Linked DNA regions of Homo sapiens: all the other regions are linked to region 3. Evidence: promoter capture Hi-C in 16 types of primary human blood cells and fetal thymus (Javierre and others, 2016). All regions are on one chromosome and are shown on one strand. Each heading gives the region's core, a stretch centred on a gene start or on the middle of the fragment in contact. The rest is flanking DNA. Distances are from core to core; before and after follow the strand shown.

Evidence for each region. Contacts are between HindIII fragments. The CHiCAGO score rates a contact against its expected background, and 5 or more counts as called.
Region 1: a contact is called between a fragment that was not itself captured here and the fragment with the promoter of H2BC4 in region 3, in 6 of 17 cell types (total CD4 T cells, non-activated CD4 T cells, total B cells and 3 more). The highest score is 9.4, in total CD4 T cells.
Region 2: a contact is called between a fragment that was not itself captured here and the fragment with the promoter of H2BC4 in region 3, in 2 of 17 cell types (total CD4 T cells and monocytes). The highest score is 6.0, in total CD4 T cells.

Annotation. Positions count from the first base shown.
Region 1 is chr6:27,155,346-27,158,290 of GRCh38, reverse strand. TRH-GTG1-5 (tRNA-His (anticodon GTG) 1-5) reads right to left here and starts at 164; the gene lies at 93-164. RefSeq lists a silencer at 4-53. The HindIII fragment of the contact is 1,152 bases long and covers 1,100-2,251 here.
Region 2 is chr6:27,136,956-27,139,884 of GRCh38, reverse strand. H4C9 (H4 clustered histone 9) reads right to left here and starts at 603. Exons shown (of 1, transcript NM_003495.3): 1 at 207-603. The coding sequence starts at 576. The coding sequence ends at 265. It also overlaps a transcript of H2BC12 not described here. RefSeq lists enhancers at 1-54, 55-647, 410-789. The HindIII fragment of the contact is 264 bases long and covers 1,247-1,510 here.
Region 3 is chr6:26,122,604-26,125,741 of GRCh38, reverse strand. H2BC4 (H2B clustered histone 4) reads left to right here and starts at 1,816. Exons shown (of 1, transcript NM_003526.3): 1 at 1,816-2,275. The coding sequence starts at 1,838. The coding sequence ends at 2,218. It overlaps H2AC6 (H2A clustered histone 6), which reads right to left and starts at 1,570. Exons shown (of 1, transcript NM_003512.4): 1 at 1,052-1,570. The coding sequence starts at 1,509. The coding sequence ends at 1,117. RefSeq lists enhancers at 1,194-1,403, 1,494-1,633, 968-1,653, 461-1,660, 1,904-2,643 and 4 more and a silencer at 1,667-2,032. The HindIII fragment of the contact is 15,442 bases long and covers 1-3,138 here.

The DNA of each region.
Region 1 (2,945 bases), core at 426-2,925, 1.0 Mb before region 3:
CCGAGACTGTCTCCACTCCAGTATGTTGAAAAATTGAGGCGACGTCAAGGTACTGCTCAGTACGTTGAGAAATTGAGGCGACATCAAGGTACTGCCGTGACTCGGATTCGAACCGAGGTTGCTGCGGCCACAACGCAGAGTACTAACCACTATACGATCACGGCACGCCACCAGAGGCCGCTGCTTGTGGGGCTCTTCCTTTGCTTATTTCCCAGAAACGTCTGTTTTTGTCATCTAAAGAATGGTGCAGTCTTTCGTCCTTATTTACACACCTACCCAGTTTACTTCCTTATCCACTCCCCGTCCCCAATATTTTGCTTATGGCAAAGAAGCCAAAGGTAACACATTAAGTTTCATTATATGGAATTTTCCCAGCGTGGTGGTTGTTTTTGGGGGTTGGTAATACTGTGCTTGTAAACTCATTATTCTCACTTCTATCTCCAACCCACGCATGTTTCTTGCTCAGTTTAGCAGTGTGGTCCTCAGATCTTTGGCAACAAAAGGAAGAGGGCGCTGCTTTGAAGTGGACCTGCCAGATCCCATTTTTTGCCAAACTAGTCAGAATCTTCGGGGGCTTGGCATGGAATCTGGCATCTCGACAGGTGCCAGAAGTGAGTTTCTCATCACGAGGAACTATGTGGCTTCGTCCTGACCCAGGTACCTATGAGAAGCCAGTGAGGCGCTCGCGCACTCAGCCTGCCCACCTGAGCCGTCAGGAAATGTCCGGCGGCGCTCGCACCTCAGAGTGAAATTTCTTTCTCCCTTTCATACCTAGTTTGCCAGAAGAGGGAGATAAAAGTGCCTCTCCTGTGGCTCCAAAGCTCCGTGGGACTTCCCTCCTGCCCCGCTTGCTGTTTTAGGAACGTAGCCTCTAGAGTCAAGGTCCTGGTCGTGTTTTCCCCTTGATACCAAATGATTTTCTTTCTGTAAAATCATTCTGGTCTTAAACTCCTGAACTCAACTGATCCGCCCCTCTCGGCTTCCCAAAGCGCTAGGATTACAGGAGTGAGCCACCGCGCCCGGCCTCTTCTCTTTACCTGGTTAAATTTGTTTAATGCTTCAGCTTCAACTCAAGAAAGCTTTTCAAATCAAGGAAGCTTTTCTTGACCTCCCGTCTCCACGCAACACATGGTTCCTTGGTTTTTTTTTTTTCCTTCCCTCCCTTCTTTCCCTCCTTCCTTCCTTCCTCTCTCCCTCCCTCCTTCCCTCTCTCTTTCTTTTCTTTTCTTCTTTCCTTCCTTCTTTCTTTCTCTCTCTCTCATTCTCTTTCTTCCTTCCTTCCTTTTCTTTCTTTCTTTCTCTTTCTTCTTCTTTTTTTTTTTCTCAGAGTCTCGCTCTGTTGCCCAGGCTGGAGGGCAATGACACAATCTCGACTCATTGCAACCTCCACCTCCCGGGTTCAAGCGATTCTCCTGCCTCAGCCTCCCGAGTAGCTGGGATTACAGGCGTAAGCTACTACGCAGGGCTAATTTTTGTATTTTTATTAGAGAGGGGGTTTCACCATGTTGGCCAGGCTGATCTATAACTCCTGACTTCAAGTGATCCACCCGCCTCGGGCTCCCAAAGTGCTGGGATTACAGGCGTGAGCCATCATGCCCGGCCACTTGATTCTTTTTCACTTTTCCTTTAGTGCTCTTATATCAGTTTGTAATGTATAATACCAGAGTTATTTGATTAATGTCAGCCTCCATCCTCCCGCTCCATATGCCCCAAGACGAGGAATATCTATTTTGTTCAATAATCTATCACTAGGGCTCCCCATTTGGTAGGTTCTTTATCAATATAGTTTGGCTGCAGAATGAATGAATGGGTGGGCAGAGACTACCATCCAAAGCTCTATGAAAGCAACTTCTCCCAGCAGCATCTGGCCTAGTTCAGCAGGCTTGCCTTTTGACCTTTGATGGGAAAAGATTGGTAATAATTTAAAGAAAGGTTGGGAGGTCAAGACAGGAGTATTGCTTGAGGCCATGAATTTGAATCAAGTTTGGGCAACATAGTGAGACCCTGTCTCTACAAAAAAAATAAAAAAATTTAACCAGGCACAGAGGTGCATGCCTGTAGTCCCCATTACAAGGGAGGCTGAGGCAGGAGGATCACTTGAATCCAGGAGTTTGAGGTTGCAGTGAGCTATGATTGTGCCTCTGCACTGCAGCCTGGGCTACAGAGCAAGATCCTCCCTCTAAAATAATAATAATAAATTTAAAAATGAAGGGAGTTCAAAATTACCCCTGCAGCTATCCATAATAAAGCTTCTCAGCAGAGCCAAAATAATGTGCTTAATTTCCTAAAATTTTCTTTATCTCCTTTCCTCTGTCTGGATTACACAAAAGTATTCTAATTACTAATAGGTTTACTGAATGAAGAATTACCTGTTTCCTAGCATCATTGTTATTATTATTATTATTATTATTATTATTATTATTATTTTATTTTATTTTATTTTTTGAGATGGAGTCTCGCTCTGTCGCCCAGGCTGGAGGGCAGTGGTGCGATCTTGGCTCACTGCAACCTCCGCCTCCTGGGTTCAAGTGATTCTCCTGCCTCAGCCTCTTGAGCAGCTGGGACTACAGGCGCGTGACACCACGACTGGCTAATTTTTTGTATTTTTAGTAGAGACGGGTTTTCACTGTTTCAGACAGGATGATCTCGATCTCCTGACCTTATGATCCGCCCACCTCCGCCACCCAAAGTGCTGGGATTACAGGCATGAGCCACCGCACCCAGCCCTAACATTAATTTGTTTGATCAGGGAAGTGACCTAAGGGCTTTCTCAGTCTCAAAGACATGAGCTCCATCAAAGAAAATGCAGCCAGTAAGAAGGAAATGCAAGCTGCCTCTGTCTCAAGTCTCTTTGAGTTAGATCTTTCCTTTTCCTTTGCTTAGGGCCTTCCCCAACCCCATTTAGAAAGCTGCTGTGAATGAAAGTGCTTTTCAGCATTTTCTGC
Region 2 (2,929 bases), core at 129-2,628, 1.0 Mb before region 3:
CGGCTGCAGGCAATTTCCAGGCAGCCGCCAGAAGTTACTGGCCAGCAGAGGCTCTTCTGGCCTTGGAAAAATCTCGGCCCAAGGTCACCTGTAGTCATCAGCCCATTTTCGGCGTCGAGTTAATCTTGTAAAATAGGATGACAGAACTCACTGACAATGGCCCTATTAAGAGACTCAGTTTGCAGTCATTTCAACTCTTTTGTTGAAAGCTTAGGGGCCCTAAAAAGGGCCTTTTTAGAGAATGACTGGGCTTCAAAATGCCATTTAGCCGCCGAAGCCATAGAGGGTGCGGCCCTGGCGCTTGAGCGCGTAGACCACGTCCATGGCGGTGACCGTCTTGCGCTTGGCGTGCTCCGTGTAGGTCACGGCGTCCCGGATCACGTTCTCCAGGAACACCTTCAACACTCCGCGGGTCTCCTCATAGATGAGGCCAGAAATGCGCTTCACGCCGCCGCGGCGAGCAAGGCGCCGAATGGCTGGCTTGGTGATACCCTGGATGTTGTCGCGCAGCACCTTGCGGTGGCGCTTGGCACCCCCTTTCCCCAGGCCCTTACCTCCTTTGCCGCGTCCTGACATTATCAAGTGGTCAGAGAACAAAGGTCTGCTGCCTGTGATGGCAGCTTTCTTTTATGGGTAACCTCTGCGGACCAGACTGAAAACCGGAAGAGCTTTGGCGGGAAGTCCCTCTGCATTGGGGGAGGGGACCTAAAAGGGAAACAGGCCTGCTGTGCTCTACTCCCTCTTGTTCTCCTTCAGTCCTTTTTAATCCTCAAGACCTAGGCTGTTTTTCCTTTTTTCATTTAACATGATTCCTGCCTCATAACAAAAATGTTAACATTATAGAAGATACATAAAGCAAAAAGAATGTTATCTCTGCATATATGCATGTTTTCCTTTAACATTATTTGTATGGAACTATGCTATTTTGTGGCATTTTTCTCCTTAATATACAATGGAAATATACTCCATATGCTAAATTCCTAGCAATAGAACAAGATAGACTCATAGAATTTAAAGATCGTTCAGGTATATTGCTAAGTTCTTTTCTACTTATTTTCATTTCTAGTGTTTGGGGTGGAGAATTATCCCCCCAAATATCGAGCTTGGTAATGGTGGGTGTTTTTGAAAATTGAGGGTTCTCAGAAACAAGTCTAAGAATCAAGGTCCCTCTAACTTTGTCCTGTTTCTCTTCCCCAAATACAGGGAGGGACTTTCTCTGGAATTTCCTGATATGACCAAGAAAGCTTCTTATCAAAAGAAGCACAATTGCCTTCGGTTACCTCATTATCTACTGCAGAAAAGAAGACGAGAATGCAACCATACCTAGATGGACTTTTCCACAAGCTAAAGCTGGCCTCTTGATCTCATTCAGATTCCAAAGAGAATCATTTACAAGTTAATTTCTGTCTCCTTGGTCCATTCCTTCTCTCTAATAATCATTTACTGTTCCTCAAAGAATTGTCTACATTACCCATCTCCTCTTTTGCCTCTGAGAAAGAGTATATAAGCTTCTGTACCCCACTGGGGGGTTGGGGTAATATTCTGTGGTCCTCAGCCCTGTACCTTAATAAATTTGTATGCCTTTTCTCTTATTAATCTTGTCAGTTGATTTTCAGTGAACTTTCAGAGGCCAAAAGGGAGGTTTTCTCTTGGCCCCTGCACCAGTAGCAGTTCCTGATATGCCTACAACCTTAACTAATGCTGGGTAGAACCATTTAAAGTAATCTAACTTTACTAATAAGGACTTGATTTCTTGTATATAGAAATAACTTTTCAAAAAGTTAATCAGTTGGTTAGTCAGCACAATACATTAACTATTTCCCCCACTGATTTGAGGAACTTATTATCATATACTGAATATATGAGCCACCGCACCCGGCCCATTTGGTGATTTTCTTGCTACTCTTTATTTTAATGAGTACCTTACAGCAGTGCTTGAAGTATTTTCAAAGTATTCCACTTAAATGTCATAAAGTAAATGAAGATAAACTTTTCATTAAAATACTTTAGAAATTTTTGCATTTATGTTGCAATAAAAGAAAACTTGCCATACACCTTTGGAAAACAAAAAAAAATTGATATGACTGGCTGTAACTTGCTGTAGCTGAATTCAGTATATGTTGTAAAGAGGGTAAGGTAGCATAGGTTAATTGAATACGTTAATCTAAGGGTAAATACAAATTAAAAATGAGAGGCTTAATTATCTGTTGAAAACAAAAGACTTCCCTTTCCTTTCCCATCACTTTCAAAATGTCTTTCTCTGTCCTTTTAAAATGTATGTAAATCCTTTTAATGGCTAAATAGGCCTTATAACTCAGAATATTTTCTCAATGCCTGGAGAGCCATCCCTTTGAAATGTTAATCATTAAAAAAGATAGTGGTCTGTCTCCCAGTTTCCAGCGAGAAAATGGGCTGAACTTTAGCTGTCACCTGACTTCGAATTGCAAAACCTATCCAATGTAGCCATACATAATAAGCAAGATTTCTTTCTGCTTTTGCAACCTCTTCATAAGGTTTCCTGTGATAAGCAACTCTCCCTGGTTTAATGCTTATTCAATAATAAAATTATTTCCTTTGTCTTCTTTGGGAGAAGATTTTAAAATTGTATTTCCCCAACATTAGTTAACAAGTATATTTCTCTACTTGAGCTTCTCACTAATCAGAAGCCTTTTTCTGTATCTGATTTCATGAGTTTTCGCATAGCAATTAGTGACAAGGATAGCAATGAATGGTAAAAGGTGGCAGAGCATGCCATCCCAAAATATGCCATTTTGGAATAAGAATTATTCTGAGATACAGGCAATTTTAAAAAGAGTAGGTACAAGAAAGGCACTTTGACCGTTCCCTTTTACCCCCTTAAAAGCAGGAATTAAAATTCCCCTGTGGAAGATGTCCTCCCTGTACCAAAAGGAAAAGAACATTTTCATCA
Region 3 (3,138 bases), core at 567-3,066:
CCGAGATCCGGAAGAAAACCTCGGCGAGATTCACAGAATCCAGGAAAATAGGTCTCTAGAAATTTGTCCATGGTCCCAGATCTCCATTTCTTGTGGGTGGGGCAGCTGTTACCAGATCCCTAGAAGCAAAGGTTTTTTTGGGGGACCGTGTCTCACTGTTGCCCAGGCTGGAGGGCAGTGGCACGATCTCGGCTTACTACAACCTCCGCCTCCCAGGCTCAAGCGACTCTCCTGCGTCAGCTTCAAGAGTAGCTGGGATTACAAGGTATGTGCCACCACGCCCAACTTATTTTTTTATTTATTATTTTTATTTAGTAGAGAGGTGTTTCACCATGTTGGCCAGGTTAGTGTCGAAGTCGTGACCTCAGGTGATCAGCCCCCTCGGCCTCCCAAAGTGGTAGGATTAGAGGGGTGAGCAGAAAGCAAAGGTTTTTGAGTGGCCACAGGCCCCACTCTATTTCCTTTTCTGCCTGTAATGGCAACCTAGACGCTTGAGCTTCTTAAAATACAAGAGTAAGTTGCATGTCAGGCACCGTTCTACATTAGGGACATTAGTCTGTTTTACAGACACCTTTCAACTCCCTGGTTAACTTTTAGGTAATATACTCTGCACTTTAGCAGGAATGGGACCTATAACTCTCACAGAATTAGGAAAGTGAGGCTGCCTACAGCCTAAATTGAGAAAAAAATAGACGGGGGACTAGTCGGAGGACCAAACAAGGTTACCAACACGTTAGAGTTTTGCCTTCAATTTACATTTTTAAAGTAATCACAACGAAGTGTTTAGATCACGAGGCATCCCTGCATGTAAACTGTTAGGCACTAACTATGGTCGATCTTACAAAGCATTAACTAGAATATTTCTTTAGAGTATGATAGTACGTAACTGACCTACTATTACATACAAACAGACCAACCTTTAGTAACAGCGCTCCCCAAAAACCGAAAAGCAGTAATACGCTTTGCTCAAGGTTGGCATAAAATTAACTTACCTTAGTGCCTTTTTTCCTTCTACCTACAAGCAGTGAGGTTAGCTCTTCCTTTGAAACGGTAGGGGGGCTCTGAAAAGAGCCTTTGGGTTTGATAGCGTTTCCGGGAGCTCAGATACCTGTCAAATCACTTGCCCTTGGCCTTGTGGTGACTCTCGGTCTTCTTAGGCAGAAGCACGGCCTGGATGTTAGGAAGGACGCCGCCCTGAGCAATGGTCACCCGGCCTAGCAGTTTGTTGAGCTCCTCGTCGTTGCGGATGGCCAGCTGCAAGTGGCGCGGGATGATGCGAGTCTTCTTGTTGTCGCGAGCCGCGTTGCCGGCCAGCTCCAGGATCTCGGCGGTCAGGTACTCTAACACCGCCGCCAGGTACACCGGCGCGCCTGCCCCAACCCGCTCTGCGTAGTTGCCTTTACGGAGCAGGCGGTGCACTCGGCCCACCGGGAACTGGAGACCAGCGCGAGAAGAGCGGGATTTCGCTTTGGCGCGAGCTTTGCCTCCTTGCTTACCACGTCCAGACATTGCAATCAGACAAAAATCACCAAAACCAGCGGCCTAAGCTCACGAGAAAACAAACAAAATCAAGAAATATGTAAAACATGGCCGCTTTTATAGGTAGTTCCTGGGGAGTAAATCCGACTTTTTGATTGGTCGGTAGCAAATGCTAGTCAGATAGCCAATAGAAAAGCTGTACTTTCATACCTCATTTGCATAGCTCTGCCCACGGATGACAACTGTGCAGTTTGTCTTCCAATTAACTAAGAGGTACTCTCCATCCCTCATTAGCATAAAAGCCCTATAAGTAGCAGAAATCCGCTCTTTACTTTCGACACATTTCTGGTGTTTTAAGATGCCTGAGCCAGCCAAGTCTGCTCCCGCCCCGAAGAAGGGCTCCAAGAAGGCAGTGACCAAAGCGCAGAAGAAAGATGGCAAGAAGCGCAAGCGCAGCCGCAAGGAGAGTTACTCTGTGTACGTGTACAAGGTGCTGAAACAGGTCCATCCCGACACTGGCATCTCTTCCAAGGCCATGGGCATCATGAATTCTTTCGTTAACGACATATTTGAGCGCATCGCGGGCGAGGCTTCCCGCCTGGCGCATTACAACAAGCGCTCGACCATCACCTCCAGGGAGATCCAGACGGCCGTGCGCCTGCTGCTTCCCGGAGAGCTGGCCAAGCACGCCGTGTCGGAGGGCACCAAGGCCGTCACCAAGTACACCAGCTCCAAGTAAACATTCCAAGTAAGCGTCTTAACACCTAACCCCAAAGGCTCTTTTAAGAGCCACCCAGATACCCACTAAAAGAGCTGTGGCCAGACGCCAAATTTTATTTGGCGGCGGAGGGGTATTAGAATATAGGAACTGGAGAGGGGTGGGGACAAGTGTTGCAGCTTAGAGAGGGACAAAGGGTCCTGAACCCGAAAGAAGCCAGCCATTAAAAATGGCTTTGGGGTCAATTCGTTGTGCTTAAATTTAAAATGGAGACAAGCGGCCATTTTGCTAACTCGGCGTTCCCGGAAGAAACCGCAGGCTCGCTTAGGTTTCAGACCCAGCTGTCTGTCCCTGTCTACGTCGCCAGGATCAACGGTTGCCGTAATGTCATAATTTCGCCACCAGCTTCTAGCCAATAGGCTGTCCTGTCATTTTAAATATTAACCAATCGAGGGAAAGCTGTTTTGAGACTCTGATTTACATAGCGGACCGGAGTGGGAACCTGGGCAGTAACTGCCTAAGGAAGGACTCCCCCTCTGTTTTCGTGGCGCACACCTTCGTAGTATACTGAAGGGTGTGTCTCCTGGGTTTCCAACTGCCCCGGTAATAGTCTTTTAACCTAATATGCGTCAGTTTTGATAACAACACTAAGGCAGTACAGAACTAAAGATGTAAGCACTGCGCCAGATGTTGCTTCATACATCTTATTCTATTCAACTGGTTTATTCAAGATTCAAATCAAATCAAATTTTGCTTGAATCCCAGTGCTCAGTCAGCCATAAATGGTGTGTTGCCTGATTGAAACTTAAAATCTCCGTAGGGGGCTTGTAACATGCAGACAAGTTTGAAAGTTGCTTTAGGAGAAGCCAACTCTTAACTGCTGGGTAAATTGACAAGCCTTCGAACACTGAACTGAAGGCCAGTAAGGACTAGGCGCTGGG